Linked DNA regions of Homo sapiens: regions 1, 3, 4, 5, 6 and 7 are each linked to region 2. Evidence: promoter capture Hi-C in 16 types of primary human blood cells and fetal thymus (Javierre and others, 2016). All regions are on one chromosome and are shown on one strand. Each heading gives the region's core, a stretch centred on a gene start or on the middle of the fragment in contact. The rest is flanking DNA. Distances are from core to core; before and after follow the strand shown. Region 1 has its middle 26 kb from the start of IDH1. Region 2 holds the start of RPE (ribulose-5-phosphate-3-epimerase). Region 3 holds the start of PLEKHM3 (pleckstrin homology domain containing M3). Region 4 overlaps PIKFYVE (phosphoinositide kinase, FYVE-type zinc finger containing). Region 5 overlaps IDH1 (isocitrate dehydrogenase (NADP(+)) 1). Region 6 overlaps PIKFYVE (phosphoinositide kinase, FYVE-type zinc finger containing). Region 7 overlaps PIKFYVE (phosphoinositide kinase, FYVE-type zinc finger containing).

Region 1 (3,010 bases), core at 213-2,712, 1.8 Mb after region 2:
TTTATTCAATGGACTGTAATTTACAGCCATCTTCATGTATTTTGATGCTTAGATTGTCTCAGATTTGGCCAGTGGGAATCCTATCAAGCTGGGTTGTCTCAGGATTGTAACATATTTTGCAAACAGTTAATTTGGGTATACTGTCTTGTATATTAAGCCACCTAGTAGTATGATTCACTTTTCTTAAGTGAGGCTTCCTCCGAGAAGAGCTTTCATGTGCGATGCTCCTTTTCTACCAATAGAATGTATTGGTCCACGCGTTCCTTTCCAGATCTAACCAGACAATGTCTCAGCAGAAAGTATTGTTGAAAGACCGCCTGTTTCAAGATGGATCTCCAGAGACTGGAGACTTACTTAACTTAAAAAACAAGTCTGGGGTAGAAGCAAAGGAAGGTACTAGGGTGCTAGGGTTGTCACCAGTTACTGACCTTTTGGAAAGATGGGGATATCGACTTTCAAATTCTATTATTGAGACTAAATTATGGAGTCCACACGATGGACTTTCAGGTAATAATGGGAACAGGGACAGAGTATGACTGGGATAGGCACATGAGGACTTCTAGGGCAGCTGGCTGTGTTCCATTTCTTTATACGGGTAATGATTACAAGAGTACCTTGTAATGGTTTACTACATTATACACTTGTTTTGTGTGGTTTACTGCATTCTTTTTTTTTTTTTTTTTTTTTTTTTTTTTGAGACGGAGTCTCGCTCTTTCACCTAGGCTGGAGTGCAGTGGCGTGATCTTGGCTCACTGCAAGCTCCGCCCCCCGGGGTTCATGCCATTCTCCTGCCTCAGCCTCCCGAGTAGCTGGGACGACAGGCGCCCGCCACCTCGCCCAGCTAATTTTTTGTATTTTCACTAGAGACGGGGTTTCACCGTGTTAGCCAGGATGGTCTCGATCTCCTGACCTCGTGATCCACCCACCTCGGCCTCCCAAAGTGCTGGGATTACAGGCGTGAGCCACCGCCCCCAGCCTGCATCCTTTTTTAATAATAAAAAGTTTTTAAAAGTGTATTAGGAAACCTGTTCTTAATCCCTTGGACTAATTGCATAGGACAACATTCTTCTGGAACAAATTCAAAAACTTTCTCTGCAGTGTAGGCTCACCCTCTTGACAAAGCCTCTTGGTTTGCCTTTGATAGATGACACAATTTCAAATCATCTTTAACCTTTCCAAATATAAGCTTATAAAGCCTCTCTCCAGGAAGGCGCTCTGCCCTGGAATTTTAACTGGACTATATACTAAGTATTATGAGTAAAGACATTTGAGGGTCTTTAGTGGGCTTTTTGGACCTACATTCCTTTACCTGGATGACTTCACGACACTTTCTTGTTAGGAGTATTTGGTTTTAAAGCTTTCATTTGATTTCTACATGAGAATTATCCTTTTCCTAGTTGGTCTTGCTTTGTTTTATTTGGAAAATAATGCTTTGCACATTATTTATATGCTCAGAGACTAACGTTCAAGACAGTCTAACTGAATCACATTTTCCTATGTTCTAGTCACTAAATTTTTACCAATTTCAAAATTTTCTCCTTTTTTTTTTTCCACTTCAGAAGCTTTTCAGTCATTTCCTACAGGGTTTAACTCTGAATTTTTTGAGTAAACTCCAAAATGTTTAAAATACGTGATTAAAAACTAACAACTTGCTGGGCGCGGTGGCTCATGCCTATAATCCCAGCAGTCTGGGAGGCTAAGGCGGGCGAATCACAAGGTCAGGAGTTCAAAACCAGCCTGGCCAATATGGTGAAACCTCGTCCCTACTAAATATACAAAAATTAGCTGGGCGTGGTGGCAGGCACCTGTAGTCCCAGCTACTTGGGAAGCTGAGGCAGAAGAATCGCTTGAACGTGGGAGGCAGAGGTTGCAGTGAGCCCAGATCACGCCACTTCACTCCAGCCTGGGTGACATAGCGAGACTCCATCTCAAAAAAAAAAAAAACAAAAAACAAAAAGCTAACAACTTAACTTTGACCCTGAAATATTATTCTAATATTCTAGAGCTATTCTTACCTATTTAAAATGTTCCATATTTCCTGGCTGCAGTAACTCCCTTTGTTAGAATTACTCAGCAAGTTTACTTTTCTTTTGATCATGTTTGTATTTTTATTGTTTGAAATACCCTGCTTGTTGGTGACTTATTTTTTACTGCAAATTAATTACCATGCTCTTGTTCTATTCCATGAAAACTTACAACTTGGAGCTCAGCCAGTGTTTTTAATCTGGCCTTTCCATCTGCATCTACTTCCTTACAGAAGGGTTTTTTTTCCTTTCTTTGATTTTTGAACCTAATTCATCCAACAAGTAGATTGGAGTATGTCTGCTAATCCTGACACTATCTTGGTAAATCAGTGTCCCATAGGACCCACAACCTCTAGGTGAGGGTACTTTTATAGGTCAGGCTACTGCAATTGTACCATTGCTGAGCGTCAGACAGCTTGGGTTTTGAGTCACTGGTTTTGTGACAGTGTTTCAGTATGATTCTTTACTATTATAATGGGAATGCTTTTCAGAACTTATTTGGAGTTAACTTGGGTCTCATTTTCTATGAACACATTCTTCAAATATCCTAAAGCTATGGCAAGATAAGCAACATCTTGATCTGTACAATTAGTACTTTAATTCTTGCCCTTTTCCACAGTTGTGATTACCTCATGTAGTTCAGCGGTATTGAAAGGTGACAGCGTGCTGGCAGCCCTTGCTTGCTCTCAGTGCCTCTTCGGCCTCAGCGTCCACTGGCCGCACTTGAGGAGCCCTTCAGCCCGCCGCTGCACTGTGGGACTCCCTCTCTGGGCTGGCCAAGGCCAGAGCCAGCTCCCTCTGCTTGCAGAGAGGTGTGGAGGGAGAGGCGCTGGCGGGAATCGGGGCTGCGTGTGGCGCTCATGGGCCAGTGCGAGTTCCGGGTGGGCGCAGGCTCCGTGGGCCCTACACTTGGAGCAGCCGGCCGGAGCCACTGGCCGAGGGCAGTGAGGGGCTTAGCACCCAGGCCAGCAGCTGCTGGGTGCCCC
Region 2 (2,906 bases), core at 158-2,657:
TATATAAGTATAATTACATATAATGGCCAATTAAAAGCCAACCTTTGTGAGAGGTAATATTTACTAAACTTTTTACACATTTGGCCTATTATTTTTAGTACTCTATGGTCAAAGTTTTGTCATTATCAGTTGGGTGGACTCCTAAGGTAACTGGGTAAAATGCCAAAGAGAAACAATACATTTAACCACATAGAGCAATGGAAGATAAAACTCTTCAAAGCCAGATTAACATTAAAAAGAAAAGGAAATCATCACCTTTAGAAAATAACACCAATTTGCAAACTGAATGAGGGAACACAGGGTTTTTACCTATTTAAAATAAATTTATTTTTCCATCCCCACTCAAGATAATGGTATTTATGATTTTTATAGTCAGTTAACAGTGGGGCTCAGAGAACTACTTGGCAAACCTAGGAAGAGCCAAGTTGCAAGTCTGTCACAATCTTCTGTAATCTTGAGGGAGTCTTACTGCTTTCTCTGGGGTTGTTTCCTCATTCTGTAACCAACTTCAGAAACTAATATCCTGACTCCAAACAATATTATGTGCTGTAACTACGGTGCTTAAAAATTACTTACAAAAAACTGACCTCCCTGAAGAGCAGGGTGCCTGAAGAGAAAATAGACAGGAAAATCAGAATTGTAATAATGATGTAATTAACAATTATAGAGAACTTAATATACGCCAGGCACTGTAAACTTCTCATGTACTCGCTCATTTCATCTTCCAAGATGCCTAAGCGGTAGGTTCTGTTAGTAGTTCCATTTTTCAAATTATGAAACTGAAGCTCAATGAGGTTAGTGGCTTGTCCAAGGTAACCCAGCAAGTGGCAGAACTCGGGAACCTAACCGCAGGTGCCAACTTAAATCGTTAGAGAAGTCTGTTTCCCCAGCTTTGCCACTAACTAGCTATATGAGCTTGGGCAAGTCATGCTTCTCCCCTTGGGCCTCAGTTTCTCTAGCTGAAAGTGAAGAAATGTCCTAAAGATTTAGGTCGCTTCCGGGTCCTAAGTGATGGAAGACCACACGTTACGTGGGGGGAGGGGAGGAACTGAGGTTTGGGACCCGGCCGCAACCCAGGATACCGCGTCGGTTCTGCTCCTGCTAGAGCCTCCAGGGCTCCTACCCCACACCCCTTCTAGCATCGCGTTCAGAGTGAGGCGCTCGGTGGTACAGGGACGCGGTACATCCAACAAGCAGTCAATAAAGGTGCACTGATCCGCCCCGCCGCGCGGCAAGCCCGACCGGAGCCCGGAGGAGTTACCCGTCCATTACGTCCAGGTGCAGATAATCGGCCCCAGAGTCTAGCATCCGGAGGCACTCGGCCCCTAAATTGGCCAGGTCGCTGTTGAGGATGGACGGGCCAATCTTGCAGCCCGACGCCATACCGCTGGCTCCCAAAAGCAAGTTACCCACGAGTCCCCGGCAAGGCTAGAGCGTCACCCCGATTGGGCGCGCAGTTTTGGCCCCGCCCCTTCTCCGTACAGGCTTCCGGATTCTACCGGAAGCAGCCACTCTGCGGTGAGGAAGTCCCGCCTCCTCCTGGGGTGGGGCGCTGTCAGCCGTCCGCCTGGGGCGGGGCGGGGCACACGGGCCTCGTACACCTGATTTTGACCTTCCTTCTTGTGCTGTTTGGATCTTAACGTCCTCGCAGTACTCAAGGCGTTTCTTAACCTTTTTTCACTTTGCTTCTCCTGCAGTTCCCTCTCCTCGGCTCTTGACTTAACATCACTTTTTGTTTCTCCACCCTTTGCATATGCCTTTCTTTCCTCTCCAGCGCCTATGCTGGCCCTTTAAAACAACAATTAAAAACCTTTCTTCCTCGTATTTCTCCTAGAGCTCTTCTTTTGAGCTGGAGGAACCCTGGCTCTGCCAGATACTAGCTGGGTGACCTGGCAAATCACTTCTTAACTTCGGTTTTCTCATCTGTAAAGACAGTGCCCAGCTTTAGGGTTGTATTAAATGAGTGAAGCCAGGTAATGCGCCCAGCAGGATGCCTGGTGCTCAGTACAAAATGGTAGTTATTATTATATTACCCTCTTTTTCTGCCTTTGCAGTTCCTCCTTACCTTTTTTGTTTTTCCCTCTGTTGAGGCTCAGAAAATGATAGCCCAAAGTGAAGGCCTCAGACGCAACAGTGTTTCTCTGACTTCCTGCCCTGCTCTCTTCTCAGTCTCATTCTAGGAGGCAGGTCATAGAAACTGGAGCCCATCTTCCCTAAGAAGAGTCATTGAAACCGGAACCCCCTTTCCCTGAAGCCAGACACAAAACCCAAAAGCATTACTCTAACTTTCCTCCACCTTTCTGTGTAAAAACTGGCCATAAATTATTTGACCCATCTCAACTGTAGGTTATAAAACTCCTCTTCTAGAGAAGGTTCTATCCCATATCCAGGAGGAGGGAATGCTGCACAGAGAGGCCAGGAATCTAAACTAGACTGGCCAAGGCCAGGTCAGTCTATTAGCATTAGATCGCCTATTTTGTCCAATCGTATTTCTACATGGCTGTCTATACTTTGTTGAACCTAAGTATAAAAATGGGTAATCACCCCTGTACCTTTGGGTCTTCATTCTGAAGGCTCCTGTGTCAGGTAAAACTATAATCAAATAAGTTTTTATGCCTTTTCTCCTGTTAATCTTCTTTCTGTCAGTGATTTTCAGCAAACCTTTGGAGGGTGAAGGGAAAGTTTTCCCTTGGCCCCTACACCTCTCCAATGCTCATTCACAAATTGTGATAGGTTTGTGTGCTGTTCACACACAGTTCAGAAATGGATGAGTATCCTGATGCTAAATGTGCCTAGGGTCAGGAAAAGAGACAGAAGTAAAACCACTTGGCGGGGATAAATGGACTTAGCAAGAGCAATCCTTAAGGGGTCAGAATAGAGCACTTGTACTCTGTGTAAAAGACGGA
Region 3 (2,958 bases), core at 293-2,792, 2.0 Mb after region 2:
TGGGAAGCACTGAGGACCTTGTAGAAATTATGGAATTCAGGACCCTAATGTAGGTAGATCTTCAGAATAAAAATCTGTGAATGTGTGATCCAGGAATCTGCGGGGGTTTTTTTGTTTTTTGTTTTTGTTTTTGTTTTTTTTTTTGAGATGGAGTCTCACTCTGTCGCCCAGGCTGGAGTGCAATGGCATGATCTCGGCTCACTGCAACCTTTGCCTCCTGGGTTCAAGCAATTCTCCTGCCTCAGCCTCCCAAGTAGCTTGGACTACAGGCACCAGCCACCACATCCGGGTAATTTTTTGTATTTTTCGTAGAGACAGTGTTTCGCCATGTTGGCCAGGCTGGTCTCAAACTCCTGACCTCAGGTGATCCGGCCGCCTCAGCCTCCCAAAGTACTGGGATTACAGGCATGAGCCACCACACCCGGCCTAGGAATCTGCATTTTTAACAGCATTCAAGAACCTTGACACTCAAAATGCAGCATCACTTAGGAGATCATGACTGTTGGAGAGGCCCCATCCCAGACTTACTGTATCAGATTCTGCATTTTGACAGAATTCTTACCCGTTAAAGTTTGAGAAACACCATCCTAGAAGATTCTGTTCCATGTGAATTTTGAGAACCACCAATCCAATGGAAGACTGATCTGTGTAGCACAATGTAATGGGTACATTTATAAAGGAACACATGAGATCCTCTAGGAGTGCATAAAAGGAGCAGGTTCCCCTATCAGGCAAGGTTTCCAGAAGAGGTGTGATGTCATCTGCTTTTTTTTTTTTTTTGAGACAGCGTCTCGCTCTTTTGCACAGGCTGGAGTGCACTGGCTCAATATCAGCTCACTGCAACCTGCGTCTCCTGAGTCCAAACGATTCTAGTGCCTCAGCCTCCTAAGTAGCTGGGATTACAGGTCGTGTGCCACCATGCCTGGCTAATTTTCGTTTTAGTAGAGACAGGGTTTCACTATGTTGCCCAGGCTGGTCTCGAACTGCTGGCCTCAATCAATCCACCCGCCTCGACCTCCCAAAGTGCTGGGATTACAGGCGTGCACCGCCATGCTCTGCTAATTTTTGTATTTTTAGTAGAGATGAGGTTTTATCATGTTGGTCAGTCTGGTCTCGAACCGCTGGCCTCCAGCGATCCACCCGCCTTGGCCTCCCTAAGTGCGTGGATTACAGGCACGAGCTACCACACCCGGCCTTTTTTTTTTTTTTTTTTAGAGTGAAAGTTTATTAAAAAGCTTTAGAGTAGTAATGAAGGGAAGGAAAAGAAGAAAAGAACACTTGGAAGAAGACCAAGCAAGTGACTTGAGAGACCAAGCACCTGTTACCTGCTTCTTAAAGAGCAAAGAGAAATTAGCCAGCCTAAGTAAGAGGATGGGCCAGGAGTGAGAACTCTCATCAGAGGGAATCACATGTACAAAGTCCTGAGGCAAAAGAGAATACTGCAAATATTCTCTTTTGGTAATTAAAACAAAACAAAACAAAAAATGTACCTCTGGCCAGGTGAGGTGGCTCACACCTGTAATCCCAGCACTTTGGAAGGCAAGGAAGAAGGATTGCCTGAGGCCAGGAGTTCAGGATCATCCTGGGCAACACAGGGAGACCTTGCCTTTACAAAAAAAAAAAAAAGAGAAAGAAAGAAAAAAGAAGTTAGCCACGTTGTGGTGATGCGTGCCTGTAGTCCTAGCTACTCAGGAGGCTGAGTTGGGGGGATCCCTTGAACCCAGGAGTTCAGGGCTGCAGTGAGCTATGATCGTGCGACTGCACTCTGGCCGGGGCACAGAGTGAGATCCTGTCTCTAGCAAAACAGAAAAAAAAGTACCTCAAATTGCAGGGTTTAAAGAAAGCTTATTTAAACTTTGAATATCAACCAAAGGAAATTTTTTCTTAACTCAAAGCTTAAAGATTTGCTTATTAATCTTCTGGAGGGTGGGAAGGTGGGAAGAGGAATCAGAGTTTTAGATTTCTGTTTCATCCCTGACCCCTTTGACCTTTTTTTTTTTTTATCATTCCTTTGTTCATTCATTTATTCAGATATATATACATTGGGCCTGTGCTAGGTGCCTACTAGATGGTGGTGAGTGAAACTGAAATAGTGCCTGCCCTCAGGGAGTTTATAGGTGAGATGGGTGAGCGTGGGAAAACCAATAAAACTGATAAATAAGTGTGTACTTATAAAGTGAGAAAATGGCTAAGAAGTGTGCTATGATGGAAAACAGACAGGAAACTGCAAGGAAGGTCTGTCCAATCAGACCAGCATATCCCTGCAAAGCGACCACAGTCACTGCAGGTGGGATGTGGGCGGTCTTACCAGGCAGTCCTGCCCGCGTGCACACACACGCACACCCTATTTTGCTGGGAATCCGCAAGTGGGGGTGAAGACCTCACCTCAAAACCACCCCTTTTCAACCTGCGTAGGAAAGGACAGTGAAAACGGATTTTCACTGCAGCCCCAAAACCGGAAATGAGAAGCAATCTCCAGAATAGTCCCACTTTTGGAAAGAACTTATTTGAGTAATTAATTCCCTTAGACAAGGGAGCTGCTAAAAACCAGCCCGATCCTGACATGTTCTAAGTGACATTTTCCAATCGCAAACACCCATTTTGGCGTTGGGTGGAGCAGTGAGGAGACTCCACGACACACGCCATTGCTTTCACAATGTGTACAAGAGGAACTGTATATAAGAAAGCAAAGAAATAAGGAGGCCTGGCGGGTGCGGTCAGGCCTTGCCTAGCTGCCGGGTCCCTCGGGCAGGAAAGACTCGTCCTCGCGGCCTGGAACCTTGTGTGTCCGGCTCTGGCTGCCCGGGCCGCCGGCGGAAGCATTTCAGAGTGGGACCGCGAGAAGCCGCTTGTAAACAGAGCCGGGCCGGGATGGTCAGCGCCCGGGCGGGCTGTCACCGTGAGGCGGGCGGCAGGCTGCGGGAGTCAAGCCCCTCCAGGAGCGGACTGAAGGCCCCG
Region 4 (3,006 bases), core at 56-2,555, 1.7 Mb after region 2:
TACCCGCTTGCCTTCTCTCTTTGATCTGAAACCGTGGGAGCCAAGAAGGAAGAGAAATTTTCTCCCATTATCTGAGGCCTAACCAGTGGAGTACTATGGACTAAGAATGTCTTTACTCTAGGAAGCTAAGCTAAGCTAAGTAGGGAAGGAATAGGAGAAGGCTAATCTCCTTTTGTGTCCAAAAGAAATTTATCATCAGAGTTAGTTCTTTAACCTCTACTGCCTGCTTCTCTTCCTCACTCCACAGGGCAAGCAGCATCCTTAACTGGAGATCTGCCTGTGGGCTTTTTGACAAATTTGACAATCCTTGATGATATTTATATCAATACTTAATATTATATTCACAATACAGTTAAGTGTAAACTATGTCTTTAAAAGAATTAAGTTCAAATTCTACTTAAAAGTTTTTAAACAATTACTTTTCACATCAGAGACCTCCTTCTCGCAAACCAAGTCCAAGTTTACATTCTTGGTTCTCAACATTCTCTAAATCATTATATATATTAAAAACTGTGTTCCCATGATACCACCATAATCAAATATATTTTCAGCACCTTCTCTGTGCTAATCAATGTGCTAAGCCCTAAGTATATCCTCATGAAAAAAAGAGACACCATTCCACATACAGCTTTTTATAAAATTACCTTTGATGAAAGCGTCACTTATTGAGAGCTGTTGTCCTCCAGTGTCAGAAATCAAATACTCTGCATACCAGGGAGACAACAGAGAGGAGGAACAAAAGTAGAGACATATGACTATAACATGTCAGCATAATTATATAGAGAATACGCCCACACACAAAATATTACTCATACTAAACCCATCACTGCCCGGCAAATTCAAGAAAGCTTTGGGTAAAAATGCCTCTTTATACTTGTTCTATGCACTTCATACTAAACTTAAGCAGACTTGCATTAATAACACAATAGAGCCGTGAAAACAATTCTCCTTAATTCAAATGTCAGATAGAGAAATGTTTTTCTCTTACCAAAACCAACCGGTTTATGAAAATTAAATCTTCAGATACTTGTACGACCATCCTAAAAGATTACAGTTCTTTTCACATGTAACTTGATGATTTAACAAATAATCACTTTGCCTATGCACAAAGCAGTTCATACAGAACCCACCTGATAAAACAATATAAACTTTTTTCAAATTTCAGAATATAAGCTATAAAACAAATTAATACAGAAGTGACATTGGCAGGAATAAAGATAAAACTCATCAGTATTTGTATTAGTTCCAAATAAGTGTTTTTGTTTTTCAAAAATTATATCAAACACTGCCAAATTTTTGCTAGACATTAACTGAACACACTCTGAATGCTTTTAATATATTAAATACTTTTCTTACAAGTGAAACTTACTCTTTACTTCCCCGTGAACTTTCTCTAGGTCTGTGACCAAGCATAGCTCAAATGAGGTTCTTTCCACTATGCAAATTAAAACATGATGCATGTAAACTCCTTTACGGTAAAGGATCTCCACAAAATTTTCTCCAAGTACATTTATAAACAACTGGGCTTTAAAAGTTACTATGTTTATAAGCCAATATGCTCATCCTTCCAACCAGGAAACAAAGAAAATATTTTATTTAGAAAGTTCAAGTGCACTATGCCAAATACAATAAAATCGAGTATGTGGGCAAGATAGATGTTACACTTTATTTCTACTCTTCCCTCACAGGAATGAGTAACACCAAATCCTATTAGTTCAATTAATGTATTGTTCTTTACCAGCCTTCTCACACTAAAGCTTAATTGTATCTATATGAGACTCCAGAAATGGTGGATTTTCCCCATTTAGTTATGAAAAAAATTCAAACCTACAGAAAATGCTGTATACCATCCACCTGAGTTCAACAATTGTTAAGGATTTGCCATATATGTGTATGTTTCTTCCCCCCGATCATTCAAAGTTACACACATCATGACACTTTACCACTAGGACATCAGCACAACTCTCATAAAAATAAAGGTATTCTTCTCTATAGCCACAAAATTATTTACATATTTGAGAAAATTAACAATGTCTTAATAGCACAGAATTAGCCCATACTCAAGTTTATCCAACTGTCTCCAAAATGTTTTTAATCCACAGTTTTTCTTCTTAAGCCTCGATGCAATCAAGTTCACACATGGCATTTGGTTCCTGTATCTCTTCATTCTCTTTTAATCTAGAACAGATCTCCTGTCTTTTTTTCTTTTCATAACATGAATTTAAAAGAACCCAGGTCAAATGTTCTGTGCAATGTCCCACATTCGGAGTACAATCCATTGTTTTCTCATGGTGTGTTTAACTTGCTCCTCTATCCCATGTTTTCCTATACACGGAAAACTACATCTAGAGATTTACGGAAGCCGTGATTTTCACCTTCTTCTCTAGGTTTTACTTGCTAACTTTCCAAGAATAGTTCAGAATCCTGCTTGTAATACATAATAAAATATATTTTAACTGTACAATTCTCCAAGACCAATAATGAAAAATTAAGCCAGTTTTACGAGCTTCTGAAAATAGGGTTTTCTCACTTCAGACAGAAAGCATAAGTAGTATTTTTTAAAGTACAGATATTTCAACCAATTTTATAAATCCAATTTTCCTCAGCCTGAAACAATATAGGACAATCCATAAGAAAATATTTAATAAGTACTACCTTTAATTTCAATGTAAAGATAAAAACCATTCCCATTTGTATTTATACAAAGGGAATGAAAACCAGAGGCAAAAGAATTCTATTATTTTTTCACGTAACTACCAGTCTCCCTGGAAATCTTTATTTTCTGATAATCAGTGTTCATCTTGACTATAACACTCAGCAAACTATTACGCTTCAACTTCACAAGAAAAAATGTAAAAAGAATAACTCGTTAGTATGTTAAAAACTAAGAGAGAACTGTGAAAGCCAGTAATATTTATTAAGAGACTTTTAAAGTCTTCAAATTATAAGACTGCAAATGACCTAAGAGGTCAATTTAATAATTATCTTCTTCCTAATGCTGGAACC
Region 5 (2,736 bases), core at 105-2,604, 1.8 Mb after region 2:
GTGTACTCAGAGCCTTCGCTTTCTGCATAATGAGCTCTATATGCCATCACTGCAGTTGTAGGTTATAACTATCCATTTGTCTGAAAAACTTTGCTTCTAATTTTTCTCTTTCAAGCTATGATTTAGGCATAGAGAATCGTGATGCCACCAACGACCAAGTCACCAAGGATGCTGCAGAAGCTATAAAGAAGCATAATGTTGGCGTCAAATGTGCCACTATCACTCCTGATGAGAAGAGGGTTGAGGAGTTCAAGTTGAAACAAATGTGGAAATCACCAAATGGCACCATACGAAATATTCTGGGTGGCACGGTCTTCAGAGAAGCCATTATCTGCAAAAATATCCCCCGGCTTGTGAGTGGATGGGTAAAACCTATCATCATAGGTCGTCATGCTTATGGGGATCAAGTAAGTCATGTTGGCAATAATGTGATTTTGCATGTTTTTTTTTTCATGGCCCAGAAATTTCCAACTTGTATGTGTTTTATTCTTATCTTTTGGTATCTACACCCATTAAGCAAGGTATGAAATTGAGAAATGCATATATGTATAACTGTATATTTACACACATTTAGCTAAAGGCAAATACAAATAAACTTACAAATAGGCGTCCATCTCAACACATTTTTTTTCAAACATGCTGTTTTTTTTCCTTTATCCTTTTATTCAGTTATACCATATGATATTGCCATTTTTATGTTGGTAATTTCATATGGTTCAACCAGATCTGTGGTTTTCAACACTGGCTGCACAATAGGATCCCCTTACAAGTTTTTTTGGTGGTTTTGTTTTGCTTTGCTTGATTTGTTTCTTTGTTTTAGTTTCAATGCTTGAGTACCACCCTACACAAATTAAAATCTGAATTCCATGGGGTTCAGGCATTTTAAAGCTCCCCAGGTGAATCTAATGTGCAAACTTGAGAACCACCAAAGATTGTATTAAACATGATCCCATCATGCATAAAAGAAAAAACTGGCTGGGTACTATGGTTCACACCTGTAATCCTAGCACTTTGGAGGCCAATTTGGAAGCACTGCTTGAGGCCAGGAGTTTGAGACTAGCCTGGACAACATAGCAGAACCCTGTCTCTACAAAAATGAAAAGTATTTCAATAATTATGTCAATTGTTCATGGAAGAGCCAGTTTTGTTTATTCATATACAAAGTGAGTAGGCGAAGCTGAGTGGGGTGGCATGTGCCTATAGTCCCAGCTACTTGGAAGGCTGAGGCCTGAGGATCCCTTAAGCCTAGGAGTTCAAGGTTACAGCTATGAGCTATGATCACACCACTGCCTACGCAACAGAGCAAGACCCTGTCTCGAAAAAGAAAAAGAAAAAAAAAACTGACTCGGTAGTTGAAAGCAGCCTTACTAAAGCATTCCTTCCTGCCTGGAAAAAAAGTATTGCTTCTTTACTTCTGTACCAGTACACTTGTTGCCAAATTAAGCAAAAAAACTGCCAAGTAAACAAAATCAAAGTTCAGTGTTGAAACTGAGGTTTCAGACTTTCACAGAAAGTAGTTTATGTCTTAAAAGGACCTTAAAAACAGGAATCTCTCATGCTGAAATCCAGAGGTTTTAATGTAGCCATCATTGAAAACAGTGTGTTGAGGGTAAACAGTTTAGTCCTTGAGGGGTCAGTTAACTTTGTTCCACTCTGTGGCTAAAACTATCCTTTCATCCTGGCCAAAGCCTTCAGAAATAGCTCCCAGGGGCCCAAGCAAGGGAAGGTAGATGGCAGTGGTGCAAACTCGCTAATCTTGTAAAAATCACCCTAGATTCTTTCCAGTTCAGTCGTGCCTTTTTTCTGCGTATATCCTTTTTGTTTTTTGTTTTTGAGACAGAGTCTCGCTCTGTCGCCCAGGCTGGAGTGCAGTGGTGTGATCTTGGCTCACTGCAACCTCTGCCTCCCGGGTTCAAGCAATTCTCCTGCCTCAGCCTCTTGAGTAGCTGGGATTACAGGCACATGCTACCATGCCCGGCTAATTTTTGTGTTTTTAGTAGAGACGGGGTTTCACCATGTTGGTCAGGCTGGTCTCAAACTCCTGACCTTGTGATCCGCCCGCCTCCGCCTCCGCCTCCCAAAGTGCTGGGATTACAGGCATGCCACCATGCCCGGCCTTCCTCTTTTTTTTTTTTTTTTTAATTATTTTGGCATCAGTCATTTGTAAAAATGGCCATTCTATTTATTAAAGTCCAGAAAGAGAATTTCAAACCTCAGGTTGATTCATGGACTGTTTAAATATACATAAACCTATACAAAGCATTTATGGTGCTTTGGTACCTCAGTTTCTCCCTTTTCAGAAATAGTAATAAATTACCACCCATATTTACTTTATGGATTTTATATGTCAAAAATGTTCTGTGTAAAGTAGGTGTTTAATCTTTATTGTTACTTACTGCTCTTTTACCAGTTGTTATTAGTATTTCTCTACACTTATAGATGTGGCCGGCACCTGCTGGTACCTAACTCTGCAAGTATCTGATTCAATTCATTGAAGAAGATACAATGCAGCAAAGACTTATGGATGTCTAGTATATGCCAGGCATATTATTCCACTGAGTAGCTGAGGCCCATGAGGGAGGTGCCTGTCCTTGAACAGCCCTTTCCTAAAAATCATCATCATCCCATTGTAGCTGCTCCCAGAATGATTTGATTGCTCCATATGAACAAGTCCTATAACACTAGTAACAATGATACCATGAGAGACCGAGCCCCGATGGCCTAAGTAAGGACGAG
Region 6 (3,065 bases), core at 251-2,750, 1.7 Mb after region 2:
TATAAACTCCCAGAGATAATTCCCATGGGTTCTGCCACTCCCAAGTCTTCCTGCTGAAGCTATACTACTAGAAGAACCCATGAGCTCACTGCTGGAAATAAGTGTTTCAGTTATCCAAAATTAAAACACAGAATATGTTCTGGCATGGAGACAGTGCCCCCAAACAAGAAGTTATGTTCCATAGTACTTTTAAAACTAAAGGTGAACATGTAATGTAAGGCTATGTATGTCTGTGTGAGGTTTTTGTGACAATAATTTGAAAAAAATAATTTAAAACATAAAATGTATTTCAGTTTCTATCAATCTACTTAAGTTTTAGACTAAAACCCATTAATAAAGCAAAAGGTTGACTGCTTTTATAAAAATTATGCCTGAAGGAAAACCTGCCTAAATTGTACATGCTATCATCAAAATGCTTATAAACAAGCTTTTTGTGTGTCAACTTTCTCACATTTTTAAGTACAGGTTGGGCATCCCTAATCTGAAAATCCAAAATCCAAAATGCTCCAAAATCTGAAACTTTTGAGTCCTGATATGGTACCACAAGAGGGAAATTCCACAACTGAAACCTTTGCTTTCTGGTGGTTCAATGTATACAAACTTTGTTTTATACATAAAATTATTACAAATCTTATATAAAATTAACTTCAGGCTACGTGTACAAGGTGTATATGAAACACAAATGAATTTCATGTTTAGACTTGGGTCCCATCCCCAAGATAACTCATTAAGTATATGCAAGTATTTCCAAATTTGAAAAAATATTAAATCCAAAACACTTCTGGTCCCAAGCATTTCAGATAAGGGAAAGTCAACCAATACAAATTCCTCTTCTATCCCTCACACTTTTTTCACTCTTAATATACTCTCATTTACTTCTACTCATGAACAAACATGTATTTTCATATTTACTTCACAAGTTTAAAAGTTCTATCAATTCATATATGACCAGCAGTGTGCTGTGTACCTAAATACAGGTCCTAATGACTGTTTTTTTGTTTTTGTTTTTTTTTAATTGCTGGAATTCTGTTCTTATGTGGAATAGTGTAGGGGGAAAAGAATCCTACCAAGGACTGACACAGGCACTAGGAGCATTGCTGGACTGGGCAGAAGAGCTGCTGAAGAGCACACAAAGTCTCTGGTGATTAATGGGATTCAGACAGTCCACCTGAAATAGAAGGAATGAATGGATGAGCAAGTGACTGCAACCGCATTCAACCCCAATGCACCAAACACACTCCACTCTATTTGTAAAGCCTCCAATTATCACTGTGGGGGCTCTGGTCAAGATTTAAAACTACAGAAAACTAAATATAAGGAAGGGCAGTTGGTTTTTGAGAAAAGACAACCCAAAAAGTTTCAATTAAACTTAAAAATACAAAACAATGTCTAGATAGCTTGTTTTCTTAACTTACTCTTTATTTTACACAACTGCACTAAATTATTTTGGAAAAAAATTAATTAAATATACCCATATTTAACAGTCTGAACTGATGGGATATAACATCAATCTGAGACACCCAGAAATCTAAATTCTAAAGTGTTTATTTATCTATGCTTATGGCTGTTTTTGATCATTACAAAGGTAAAACCAGCTCTCTGTTAAAATTGAAACAGTATAGAAGCATATGAAGAAGTTCATAAAATACACAAAACTGCTCCTCCTGATTCTACTCCACCTCCTAAGCTGCGGAGTTTGACTCTGTGGTTTTAAAATATCTATTCTTTTTGCTAGTTTACATACCTGTCCCACATACACACATCACTTCCTAAGTACAAACAGGGGGTTTTGTTTTTATAAATATGGAATAATGCAACACATATTAAAACATAATTTGCTTTTTAACACTTCAAATATATCATGGGCTTTATCCAAGTCATTAAATGACTTGAGATCCTGCTCATCCTTAAACTGTTTCAATAAACATCTTTGTACATATATTCTTAAAAAATGCAAGCACCCTTATATAAGCATACTTAATTATTTCTGCAGGATAGATTATAAAAAGTTGGAGTCCTGGGTCAAAGGTATATACATGTATGTGTAAATTAATGGAGACTTTCCTATCACTTTCTATAAATTTATACAAATGTACATATACCTACATTTGTATAAACTTACATAAAATTTATGAAAGGTGTTTTTCCATGCCATCATTAACCATGGGTCTTTTACGACTTTCCTTTTTGTCAATCTGACAAATAAAAAATTATTTAGCACCACTATTATTTAGCACTTCCTTGACTACTAGTGAAATTGAACATACATTATTTAGCACTTCCTTGACTACTGGCGAAATTGGACATCTTCTCGTTTTATTAAACAATTGCATTTCCTCATCTAGCAATGGATTTGTTAATTAGTTTTATTGCTACCATTATCAATAATGGATCTATAAACCTTCCTTAATTTGCTCTCAATTTATGCCTAAAAAGAAAAAGATCACTGTCATAGTTAAATAACAAGGTAAAATGTTTTATGTTAAAAAAAGAGCTAACTTTTTTTGAGAAAACAAATATATTTGCTGCTAACTTTTTTAAAAAAACACATCTATTTCCTACAATAAGCTTCCATCTCTCACTCCCTGACACAAGGATCCAGGATTATCATACCACATCCAAGTCATGTTGTCAGAAATTTTAAGCAGCTCCACATTTCCCCTTACTTCAGGGATCTTCCTAGCTTATTATAAGCTCACCTTAAAACCCTGAAACCCAGTTTCATTACAATTCTGCTTCATACATATTAAAGTAACACATAAGCCAGCAGACTCAAGACAAAAACAAAAATAGCATAGGAGAAGAAATATTTCACAAATCTGCATGCAGTCTGCCAAACTGATTTTTTTAGCCTGCCTTTGAGGAGTCATTCAACACATCCTAAATGCACAGGAGCATCAGAAAGTGGTCTGGCTCACCTTTGTTGACCACACAGCATCACTCAGAATAAGCCCTCTCTCTTCATCACCCTCATTTTTGCTTCCTGATTGGCCACTTGAAGTACTTGATGCATCCTTTGAATGAGCAAAAGGGTCTGAATTTTTGGGCTGAATTCTTCCTCCTCT
Region 7 (3,071 bases), core at 489-2,988, 1.7 Mb after region 2:
TTCAATATGATTCTGAACTGCATCACAGATTGGGGGGAAAATCAGTACAAAAAAACATTATTAGGACAATTGGCAAAATCAGAATACCTACAGTATATTACATAATAGAAATGTACCACTGTTACAATTTCCTAAATTTGTTATGTAAGAGAACATGATTGTTCTGAGGAAAAACACTTAAGTATTCAAAAGTAAAAAATAGAACTTTCTACTTCTGGTCTAGCACGTGAGCATCTTCACTCCATCTCAACAACTAAAACCTGAACAAAGAGAAAAATCATCAACTGTTCTTAGGTCCATCAGAGAAGTCAGGTCACAAGCCAAATCCTGCTCCAAATACTGCAGACAGACAAGCAGATACAGAGGATCACAACTCACTGGAGCAGAAACCTCCATGGGAACCAGTAATAGGGTAGGAAAACCTAAAATCAAATTGACAAATTCCTTGAAGCTCAGTGTAGACAAACCAGAGATACAAATTCTAGGTGAACCCAGTCATGGGGGTAGTGGGGATGCTTTTGGGAGTTTCACTTCCAGATCTACCACGTCCTCACAGTGAATGTCAGAAAAATTCCCTCCGGCTTCTGGCTTCCAGCAGAGGGAGAGAATAAAGAACTTAAAAATACGTCAGAGCATTCTGTTCTTCATAACAAGTCCTGCCCTGAGGAGAAACTATTTTACCAGAGCCTAACCTGCTGGAGTTATATCAGAGCTTAACCTACCCAGGGAGAAGGAAATCCCCAACCACAGCCCCTTCTAGCCTTCCACATGGGGGAAGAAAAATCCCCAACTCCAGCCCCCTCCAGCCATTCTGTCTCACCTAAGGGGAAAAAAACGAAAAGCCCTGATAAAGTTTACAGTTCAGGGGCACAGGCTCACCTGTGACAGTGATTCACAGGACTAGAGACCACTTAACCTCCCCCTACATCCTATCACTACATCACTAAAGGCCTATTTACCATAGTTCCTTTTACCCAGTACAGCATGTCCACCTTTCAACAAAAAATCACAAGGCATAATGAAAGCCAAAAAACACAGTTCAAAGACACTGAACAAGCATCCGAAACAGGCTCAACATGAATGTGGGAATTATCAGTCTAGGAATTGTTTTTAAACTATAATTAATATGCTAAGGGTGTTAATGCGAAAAGTAAACAACAGGCAAGAACAGATAATATAAGCAGAGAGATGGATATTCTAAGAAAGAAGCAAAAAGGAAATGCAAGAGATCAAAAACACCATAACATTAAAGAAGAGTGCCTTTGATGGACTCTTAGTAGACTAGACAGAGGTAAGGAAAGAATCTTTGAACTTGAGGCTATCTCAACGGAAACTGCCAAAACTGAAAAGCAAATAGAAAAAAGACTGAACAAACAATATCCAAGAAATGTGGGACAACTACAAAAGGTATAATATAAATGTAATGGGAATACCGAAAAAAGAAGAAAGAGAGAAAGGAACACAAGCAATATTTGAAGCCATAATCACTGAGAATTTCCCACAAATTAATGTCAGATGCCAAGCCACAGGTCCAGGAAGCTCAGAGAACACAAGCGTGGATAAATGTCAAAAAAACTACACATAGGCAAAACTAAGTGTATTCAAATGGCAGAAAGTCAAAAATAAAGAAAAAGATCTTGAAAAAGACCACCTTAAAGACCAAGCATGGTGGCTCACACCTGTAATCCCTGCACTTTGGGAAGCCAAAGCAAGAGGATCGCTTGAGGCCAGGAGTTTGAGACCAGCCTGGGCAACACAGCAAGACCCCATCTCTATTTAAAGAAAAAAAAAAAAAAACCTTACCTGTAGAGTATCAAAGATAATAAATACATCTGACTTCTCCTCAGAAGCCACGCAAGCAAAAAGAATGAAATGAAATATTTAAGATGTTGAGAGAAAAAAGCCATCAACCTACAATTCTGTACCCTGATGATACCCTTCAAAAGTGAAGGAGAAGTAAAGCCTTTCTTAGACAAATGAAAACTGAGGGAATTTTTTGCCAGTAGACCTGCCTTGCAAAAAATGCTGAAAAGGCAGAGAGAAGGAATATGATATAGGTCAGAAACTTACATCTATTAATACACAAAGAAAAGCATCAAAGAAGGAATAAGTTAAAGTAAAAACTTTTCTTTTTCTTACTCTTAGTTGATGTAACAGATAACTATTTCTTCAAAATAATAGCAACAATATATTCAATTATGTATGTACGCATGCTTATATGTAAGTGAAATGAATGCCAGTAATACAACAGATGGGAGGGAAAAATTGGGAGTATTTTGTTATAAGGTATTTGCATTACCTGTGAAGTAGTATAGTATTATTTGAAAGTAAATGTGGATTAGTTGTAAGTTACATTGCAAACTCTAGGGCAATCATTAAAAAAAAAAAAAGAATGTAACTCGTATCCTTTAAAAAGGAGAGAAAATGGAATAACATAAAATGCTCAATTAAATACATAAAGGTGGAAAAGGTACAGAAGACAAAAACAGGAAGAACAAGGGCAACAAGTAGAAAACAGTAACAAATACGGCAGGGATTACTCTAACTACATCAGTAATCACCTTAAATGTCAATAGTCTAAATACACCAACTAAAAGACAGAGATGGTTAGAATGGATCAAAACCAAGACCCAAAAATACATTGTCTACAAGAAACCTAATTTAAATACAAAGACACATACAGATTAAAAAATAAGTGAAGGGTCAAAATGTCACTATTTACCCCATAAATATGCACAATTATTATGTGTCAATTTTAAAAATTAATTTTTAAATTTTTAAATGAAATCAAAACAGGATACATGAACAAAAGGAAATAGATGGAGAAAGATAAACCATGTTAACGCTAATAAAAAAAAGAGCAGGAGTAACTATATTAATTTTCAGGCAGAACAGACTTCAGAGCAATCAAAGATAAAAAGGGAAATTACATAATGATAAAGAAATCAATATTCCAAAAGACAGAACAATCCTTAATATGTATGCTCGCTCCTAACAACAGAGTACCAAAATATATGAGGCAAAAACTGATAGAACTACAGGAGAAATGGACGAATTCATTATTATAGCTG

The links. The method cuts DNA at HindIII sites, captures the fragments that hold promoters and counts their contacts. A CHiCAGO score of 5 or more calls a contact.
Region 1: a contact is called between a fragment that was not itself captured here and the fragment with the promoter of RPE in region 2, in 1 of 17 cell types (non-activated CD4 T cells). The highest score is 5.1, in non-activated CD4 T cells.
Region 3: a fragment that was not itself captured here is called in contact with the fragment with the promoter of RPE in region 2 in 1 of 17 cell types (total CD4 T cells); the score reaches 7.8 in total CD4 T cells.
Region 4: a contact is called between a fragment that was not itself captured here and the fragment with the promoter of RPE in region 2, in 7 of 17 cell types (M0 macrophages, M1 macrophages, M2 macrophages and 4 more). The highest score is 13.4, in M0 macrophages.
Region 5: a fragment that was not itself captured here is called in contact with the fragment with the promoter of RPE in region 2 in 4 of 17 cell types (neutrophils, M2 macrophages, fetal thymus and 1 more); the score reaches 8.5 in neutrophils.
Region 6: a fragment that was not itself captured here is called in contact with the fragment with the promoter of RPE in region 2 in 4 of 17 cell types (M0 macrophages, M1 macrophages, M2 macrophages and 1 more); the score reaches 8.5 in M0 macrophages.
Region 7: a fragment that was not itself captured here is called in contact with the fragment with the promoter of RPE in region 2 in 4 of 17 cell types (erythroblasts, monocytes, total CD8 T cells and 1 more); the score reaches 8.9 in erythroblasts.

What each region holds. Positions count from the first base shown.
Region 1 is chr2:208,227,901-208,230,910 of GRCh38, reverse strand. No RefSeq gene overlaps it. Among named protein-coding and RNA genes, the nearest start is that of IDH1, 26 kb to the left of the region's middle. The HindIII fragment of the contact is 205 bases long and covers 1,360-1,564 here.
Region 2 is chr2:210,001,139-210,004,044 of GRCh38, reverse strand. RPE (ribulose-5-phosphate-3-epimerase) reads right to left here and starts at 1,407. Exons shown (of 6, transcript NM_199229.3): 1 at 1,262-1,407. The coding sequence starts at 1,383. RefSeq lists enhancers at 1,139-1,308, 1,349-1,398. The HindIII fragment of the contact is 5,690 bases long and covers 1-2,906 here.
Region 3 is chr2:208,025,421-208,028,378 of GRCh38, reverse strand. PLEKHM3 (pleckstrin homology domain containing M3) reads left to right here and starts at 2,852. Exons shown (of 8, transcript NM_001080475.3): 1 at 2,852-2,958. The HindIII fragment of the contact is 609 bases long and covers 1,238-1,846 here.
Region 4 is chr2:208,309,934-208,312,939 of GRCh38, reverse strand. PIKFYVE (phosphoinositide kinase, FYVE-type zinc finger containing) reads right to left here. Exons shown (of 42, transcript NM_015040.4): 13 at 645-704. Among named protein-coding and RNA genes, the nearest start is that of PIKFYVE, 45 kb to the right of the region's middle. The HindIII fragment of the contact is 909 bases long and covers 851-1,759 here.
Region 5 is chr2:208,246,040-208,248,775 of GRCh38, reverse strand. IDH1 (isocitrate dehydrogenase (NADP(+)) 1) reads left to right here. Exons shown (of 10, transcript NM_005896.4): 4 at 116-407. Among named protein-coding and RNA genes, the nearest start is that of IDH1, 7.7 kb to the left of the region's middle. The HindIII fragment of the contact is 4,254 bases long and covers 1-2,736 here.
Region 6 is chr2:208,326,283-208,329,347 of GRCh38, reverse strand. It overlaps PIKFYVE (phosphoinositide kinase, FYVE-type zinc finger containing), which reads right to left. Exons shown (of 42, transcript NM_015040.4): 20 at 2,919-3,065; 21 at 1,068-1,168. Among named protein-coding and RNA genes, the nearest start is that of PIKFYVE, 62 kb to the right of the region's middle. The HindIII fragment of the contact is 2,141 bases long and covers 430-2,570 here.
Region 7 is chr2:208,292,402-208,295,472 of GRCh38, reverse strand. All of the region lies in intron 7 of PIKFYVE (phosphoinositide kinase, FYVE-type zinc finger containing), which reads right to left. Among named protein-coding and RNA genes, the nearest start is that of PIKFYVE, 28 kb to the right of the region's middle. The HindIII fragment of the contact is 3,704 bases long and covers 1-3,071 here.